2 separate regions of the Homo sapiens genome follow, and region 2 is linked to region 1. The links are contacts of gene promoters, found by promoter capture Hi-C in blood cells and fetal thymus (Javierre and others, 2016). All regions are on one chromosome and are shown on one strand. The core of a region is centred on a gene start or on the middle of the fragment in contact, and the rest is flanking DNA. Distances in the headings are between cores, read along the strand shown. Region 1 holds the start of MIR155HG (MIR155 host gene). Region 2 has its middle 5.1 kb from the start of LINC01684.

What was found. Contacts are between HindIII fragments. The CHiCAGO score rates a contact against its expected background, and 5 or more counts as called.
Region 2: a contact is called between a fragment that was not itself captured here and the fragment with the promoter of MIR155HG in region 1, in 2 of 17 cell types (M1 macrophages and M0 macrophages). The highest score is 6.6, in M1 macrophages.

What each region holds. Positions count from the first base shown.
Region 1 is chr21:25,560,847-25,564,632 of GRCh38, forward strand. MIR155HG (MIR155 host gene) reads left to right here and starts at 1,299. Exons shown (of 3, transcript NR_001458.3): 1 at 1,299-1,411. RefSeq lists an enhancer at 834-883 and silencers at 1,264-1,353, 1,364-1,643. The HindIII fragment of the contact is 13,141 bases long and covers 1-3,786 here.
Region 2 is chr21:24,421,604-24,425,672 of GRCh38, forward strand. No RefSeq gene overlaps it. Among named protein-coding and RNA genes, the nearest start is that of LINC01684, 5.1 kb to the right of the region's middle. The HindIII fragment of the contact is 1,116 bases long and covers 2,103-3,218 here.

The DNA.
Region 1 (3,786 bases), core at 49-2,548:
GTTGTTATCATCATGATTATTCTTGTTTGAATTATAAGAGAAAAAGCATGTATCTTAAGAATAGAGGGTTTTAAAATGCTCCCAAGTTCCTTAACCAACCTGAGCCATCTGTAAATTAAGTACTATGGGATTTCCAGCTCTGACATGTATTCTGACATGTAACTGGCATCAGTTTAATACAAACTATTCTAAAATGTCTTGTGCCCTTGACAGGGAGGTCCAAGTACTGGATACTTGCAATGCAATCCAGCAGTGGCCCCGTCTTTCTTACAAAAAGGCCCCAGTCACATGTTGATGAGGCTAGATCTATTCCTGTCCTCCTTCTCTTCCCCATATTTCCTTATTCTTCTTCAAGTCTAAACGTTTATTGAACTGAGACCCATGAATGAGTTACTCGACTAGGCTTGTAGGATAAACTTGCCAGGCTTTAGATCTATTTGTTCCTTTCCATCCCCCAAAATCAAATGGCTGCTCCAGGAAAATGTTCCCCTTGTGGCAGGGTCCGGGAGAAAAGAGAGAAGCGACAAAACCAAAAATTAAAACGACCGAAGTCCCATATGCTCCAGGAATATGTCCTGGAGATGGGAGTGGAGGGCAGGGGGAGAATGTTGTTGAGGTCAAAATTTTTGAAGTTTTAAGTCCTATATCTTGACATCCCGAGTATAAATGCGGGTACCAGACACAGTACAAACGTTCTCAAAGCCCAGTTACGTATTCCAAACCAAACGCGGGCTCTTGAAGGGTGATGAGGTAGGGATGAAATCCAGGATCGCCTGAAGACCATTTCTTCCTCTCTTAGGGACCTGCTGGTCTCCAGCTGATTCGGTCCAGGAGGAAAAACCTCCCACTTGCTCCTCTCGGGCTCCCTGCAAGGAGAGAGTAGAGACACTCCTGCCACCCAGTTGCAAGAAGTCGCCACTTCCCCCTCCAGCCGACTGAAAGTTCGGGCGACGTCTGGGCCGTCATTTGAAGGCGTTTCCTTTTCTTTAAGAACAAAGGTTGGAGCCCAAGCCTTGCGGCGCGGTGCAGGAAAGTACACGGCGTGTGTTGAGAGAAAAAAAATACACACACGCAATGACCCACGAGAAAGGGAAAGGGGAAAACACCAACTACCCGGGCGCTGGGCTTTTTCGACTTTTCCTTTAAAAAGAAAAAAGTTTTTCAAGCTGTAGGTTCCAAGAACAGGCAGGAGGGGGGAGAAGGGGGGGGGGGTTGCAGAAAAGGCGCCTGGTCGGTTATGAGTCACAAGTGAGTTATAAAAGGGTCGCACGTTCGCAGGCGCGGGCTTCCTGTGCGCGGCCGAGCCCGGGCCCAGCGCCGCCTGCAGCCTCGGGAAGGGAGCGGATAGCGGAGCCCCGAGCCGCCCGCAGAGCAAGCGCGGGGAACCAAGGAGACGCTCCTGGCACTGCAGGTACGCCGACTTCAGTCTCGCGCTCCCGCCCGCCTTTCCTCTCTTGAACGTGGCAGGGACGCCGGGGGACTTCGGTGCGAGGGTCACCGCCGGGTTAACTGGCGAGGCAAGGCGGGGGCAGCGCGCACGTGGCCGTGGAGCCCGGCCTGGTCCCGCGCGCGCCTGCGGGTGCCCCCTGGGGACTCAGTGGTGTCGCCTCGCCCGGGACCAGAGATTGCGCTGGATGGATTCCCGCGGGCAGAGGCAGGGGGAAGGAGGGGTGTTCGAAACCTAATACTTGAGCTTCTTTGCAAAGTTTCCTTGGATGGTTGGGGACGTACCTGTATAATGGCCCTGGACCAGCTTCCCTGTTGGAGTGGCCAGAGAAGTGTGTAAAACACACTAGAGGGGCAGGGTGGAAAAAGAGACTGCCTTCAAAACTTGTATCTTTTCGATTTCATTTTGAAAAATAACTACAAATCTATTTTAATTTTACAAAGTTAGACTCATAGCATTTTAGATATCAATGTCTTCATTTAACAGAAGTGAAGATGGAGCAAACGCTCAATCAGCGTCTGTATTTATTCGCTCCTGTTGTGCCAGGGTGCGTTTTTGCCGAGCGGTTGCCTTTCTTTACTCACAAAACCCCCTTGATGTCTGTCCTCCACGTTTTACGAGGGAGAGCCGGATCTTTTGAAGTTTGTATCATCTAAAGCAGGTATATTGGGATGACTATGGATAGAATTTAACCTGAAAACACTGAAGTTGACAGCTGACAAAGATATAAGAATCCAAAGTATGTTAAAAATTAAGGAGCTGAGGCCCACAGAAGTGAAGTTACTTTTCCAGCATCACACAGCAGATCTAGGACCCTGTGTGATTTGAAAAGGCCAAGGTATCTAATGATGCTCATAATTTAGTTTACATTTTGTGTCAAATAGATGAGGTCAAGTGGACATTATGTGTATATTCCAAAGCCAAAATTACTGCTTGTAATATCCATTCATCTCTCCGAAGACGTAGTGCCTCTTTTATATGGCTTTAACCTAATGTATAATCGAAGTGAATTAGGGCAGCCAGACTTTTAATCACAGGACTGATCTTTTAAAAACGGGTATATGTAAAGTTAATTGCTTATCTATGTGAACAGTAATATACACTATAAAAAGTTTTCAAGGCAACTTCCTGCCTGTGGTTTAATTTGATAGTCACAATGATAGGAAATTGGCAGGGTTAGGTGGTGGTATCTACATTTTGCCCATGAGGACTTGTGGCTCAGAGAATTTGAGTTTTTTCTAGTAAGGTCACTAGGTCCCTAGTGCACAGCCTGCTTTTAGGTACGGATGTGGGATGGGGGTGTCGGCAGACCACAGGGTTTTGACTCTCAGTTTGGGCTCATTTCCATGACTCCTTGCTGCCTCCCTGATTTCTGTCAAATGACCAAAGCACATTTAGTAATTACTTCTGCTGCAAGGACTACTCCTTATTAGGCTGTGATAAGTAAGTTTCCTCACATAGTGGGTCAGCTCACTCTGGCCACAGGACCCAGCTTCCTAACCACACACATTAAGAAAGAGAAAAATTAGCACTGTCTGAGACCTACAACCACTTCAAGGGAGAACAGTGGTGTTTGCACAAATGTCTACTTTTGTTTTAACCTAGTCATGTGTAAAAAGTGTAATTCACTGGTCTTTACCAAAAAAAAAAAAAAAAAAACAACAACAAAAAAAAAACAGGCATCATAGTCTGCCTGTGCTGGACGCTATGCTAGACACTGGAGAGACAAAGGTGAGCAGGATAGGCACAACCCTACCCTTACAAACCCAGAAAGTTAGAGGAAAGGCCATCAGGACATTGCTGTGCAATTTGATATCATTTCAATTTTGGTAACATAGATATTTGAACTAATTAGAATGTGCTACAAATTTTGCCATTCTTTACTTTCCATATGCCAACATGGAAAATTTGTAACCCTCATCTTTAAATACCTCATCTTACCAGTCCTCTATAAATCAAAAAATCTACCCCAAAAAGCCCTAGGTTTTAACTTTTGAAAAGTTTTTTTTTATCAGCTTTTCAGGTCATGACTAAGATCTGCCATTCAATTTAAAGGAATTCTTTCATTTTAGAGTAATAGTTACTAAAATCCTTTATTCCTACCTCCTTGAGAATCTAATGGAAATTTTATATGCTCTTCCCAGAAAATTTTTGTTAATGTGTATCCTCACACACCAATTTGCATTCGATGTTAGCAGGCTAGAGACTTCCTTGAATCTCAGCCATGACCCTCTTCGGGGGTCCACTTTCATAATCAGTATTCTAAACCTAGTAGGCATAAATAGCTTGAATAGAGGAAAGTGGTATGTAGACTCTTGCCCTTCACTTGGACTGGGCAC
Region 2 (4,069 bases), core at 1,411-3,910, 1.1 Mb before region 1:
ATAAGTTATTGCCATGTCATTTTGTCTACTAACAAGCCTTTAAAGCTTTGGTCAATATTTAACACTAGTTACAATTGCATTTTTCTTTTTATTTTACAAGCAACATTTCAAATTGCATTTATTTTAGAATAACTTAGAAAATGTTAAGCCAGCCATATTTATTTTGTATTCCAAGTTTATAATCTAAATGGAAAAGAAGAAACTAAAAAAATATTGCTTACTTTGAGGACAGTTGCCATATGAATTTTTATAACATTTGTTTTATTTTACCTTACTGGGTAATCATCTTTTGTTTCCAATCATTTAGTATATAATTTTAATATCAAAAGACCACAGTCACATGTAGGAATGGAGAGAGTAATAGCTGCTAAATTCTAATGTAAAACCAAGATGCTTATGGGGTCAGGCAGTGACATTATTTATCATAACATATCCAATTGAATAGGAAGACTCTGCTGAGACCATTCCACCATGTCAATTACATAGTCAAAAGGGGACATCTCAGGCTGGAGAATAATTAAGCCTGGATGAGTTAGGCATTGGATTTCAACAAAGGCTCATTATCAACCCAATAGCTGTTCTTTGAAAAAGGGTATGTCTCTCAATTAGTCAGACCTCAAGTTTAGAACTCCAAAAGAGGGTATCTATAGCTGCTTCCATTTTTCTTGGTTAGGAGCAAAAGAGATAGAATTTGAATTGCAAGACTGCCAGACCTTAGAGACTAGAGGCATTTGTATTGAATCCAAACTACCTGCTGGTTGTAAAGGGCAGAGGAGTGTGTCTCACTTGTGTAATTACAACTTTCCCCTATTGCTTTATTGGGATAGTCTACTCTGGAGCTTATGAGATAGAAAATAACAAGCAAATAACATAACACATCAATTCCTAAAATACACTCAAAGACAGAAGCAATGAAACACTACAATAAAACATTTAATTATTTTTTTCTCCACAACAAATTTTGCTCAAAGCCATTATTTTATTGTTTTAGAGATAAACTCACAGCTGCCACAAGATCCTGAGATCCTGTTATTTCCTGGCTAGAAAATTTGTAATGCAAAGGTGGAACTGAAGTGCCAAAAGCTCTCTAAGAGATCACTTAAGCAACAGGAGAGTGAGCATGTTTGTACACTCTCTTGGGCACACATGTTCTCTCTCTCTCCTTTTTGACTACTTGACAACAGAGTTTTTATCACTGTGCATGTGGAGTAAACACGGCCCAAGGGATCATTTACTGTGTCCCCTCAGATCCTACCTTGGTTCCATCCTAAATTTCTTGGTGCCTTTAGCCACCTCTGTACCCACTATCCATAAAAGAATGGGCATTCACGTGCCAGTATCCAAAAGAGCCATAACAATTAAAATCCTTCTCTGCTTGAAATTTCCAAATATGGGGTATAACATCCACAGTGAGACCTTGGACTCACCCCTAATTTTTAAAGTAGTAAAGTCCTTTGTAGAAGGGCACAAGAGATCAGGTGAACATGGAAAAGCTTATATCTGTGTCAGTGAATGAGACACAGTTCCTTTCAGGTTCAAGAATAGCAGCTGAGCTTCCCCAAACCATGTTCCAGCTATAGAAATTAAATAATCTTTCACTTCTCTTTGGAGGAGAAAGTGAAAAACAGCAGCAACAATTAAGCTCCTTGTATTAATCCTACTTCCTACGTAACAAACATCTTCTTAATTCCTCATTAAAGAAAAAGGAGGAGAACCACATATTACTAATTGGCTAAATGATTTAGTCAGTATGCTTGCTACCAATATCTACTAGCTAATGGGCCCTTGCTTTTTTTTTTTCCAGCTAATCATGTTTATGACAAGATTCCACCTTCTTTACCTAAATTGATATTTTTTATATTTATATTTATTTTTTAAAATCTGACAGTAAAAACAAAGTTTATGAATCAGAGGTTAAAAATATCATTTGCTTATAGAATATCTTAACACAGGTTCTGCTTGTTTCATTTCTACAGAAGTAACCTGCACATATAGAAGAGGCATCTGCAGTACAGGATTGGAGCTCCACCCTTACAAAATCTCCAAACTTACATAGGGCAATTTGTACATATTTTTTCTTCCCTTCTTGAGAAAGAAGAGAAAGCTTTTTCTCTAATGTAAACAAATCCCCTCTGGGAAGTGTACAAAAAGGTCCCTAAGTTGCTTCAACTCTTTAAAATGTAAATGAATGGGTTAGAAATTGATTACCTGTTGTTATGTAAATGAATGGCTCTAGAGATGATGAATTTGTAAATTTCCCTAGGGTTTTTATCTTTAATTTCCAGGACTTGTTTGCCTCTTCCTCATTTTCTTTTAAGTTGGATTGCCAGTACATTTTGCCCAGAAAGTCATGACCGTGCAAAAATGTAAAAATAGTCACATTTTGTTCTAACACAAATTGATCTCTATACCGATGGTGTTATATTTATGGCAAATAATGATTTTCTCAGTACATAATTATTAAACATGTAGTAATGCTAATGTGGAGGATAAGGCAGTAAACAAGGGGGGAAATATCTTTGCCCTCTAGACATGGGAAAACAAATAAGCAAAACAAATGGTAACTTAATAATAAAAGCCAAGGGAACAAATAATCAGAGAAACAGATTGAAATCATGGGGACTTTGGGATTTTCAAGCGGATGTTCAGAGAAGTTCACATTAATGAGAAGACAGTATCTGAATGAAGAATCTAAAAATGAGGGTGTGAACCTTGACAGTGACAGAGAGAATTTGATTAGGGAGCAGGACCAGTGAAAGCAAAAGCCTTAAGCCGGAGTCATGTTTGGCTATTCAAGAAACAACAAGGATAATAGCATAGCGAGGACAGAGAAAGTGGAAGAGAGACTGGCTATGATAGATAATATTCACAGTCAGGTCACTAAATTAATTTAATATATAATTGAATGCTAATATATTGCATATGTTACACAGTAAAATTAGGAAAGGTGTCATGGAAGGATTGGAAATTGGATTCCTTCTATAAAGAAAAATATATTTTATATATACAGAGTAGGGATTGCAAAGGAATTTAGGCAAAGTGTTTGTGGCTAAAACCCCTATGATATTACCAAATTTTACCCCTTTTATCTTCAGCAGAGATAATTAGCAGAGATAATTAACATGACTGCCCAACTAAAATACATGTCTCCCCCTCTTTTATAATTAGGTGTGGACATAGCTAAATTATCACAAAAGGCAAATATGTGGAATTAAGTAAGCTTGAGAAAAATGGAATGGCTTGTTCCTCAATATTGTCCACCACGCTGAATCTAAAACACAAAACTGCAAGTTCTTCTGCTTTCTCTTTTCTGCCCTTCCTCCTTTTCACCTTTCTTTTTTAATCATCTCCCCCTTCCTTTCTCTTTTCTTTCTTCCTTTACGCCTTCCTCATTTTCTTCCACAAATGATTCATCCACTTCTACATGTCAGGCACTGTACAGGGTGTCTGAGATTCAGCTGTAAGTCAAACCAGAATCTGTCTTACCCCAGTGGATCTCGTACTCACATATATGAAGAGATGATGATAAAAAAAGTTGCCCTGTTGATTTGGGGAGGTCGAGGCCAGGCCCCCACTTGGCTTGAAGGGACATTTTCAGACTTTTCTTTCTGTCACTTGGAGTGTCTATGCCTCTCATGTTTCCCTAATAAACTCCTCAACTTTTTTTAAAAAAAGTTTCAGATATGAATGTTACATTCCAACTTGTATAACTGGTAATGAAGAAGTGTCATAAATTAAAATAATAATAAGTGAAATATGGCAGTATAATATAGTGCTCAAAAAAGTTCCATCATTTTCTGAAATTTCAAAGCCATATAACATTAGGTAAGTTACACAAACTTTGAAAGTTTTAGTTTCTGTTTTAAAAGAATATAAAGGGAATGCTTCATGTAGTGAGCAATTGTGTTTATAAAAAATTTTAGCCAGTGTAAGGATGCTAACGATGATGCATGTGAAGTTTATGTAAAATGCTCTGAAACAACATTCTCTGAAGCATAGTGAGAGCTTAATGAATTTGAGCTATGGATATTGTGAATTACTAACTATTTGACCTTGGCAGAATCATGAT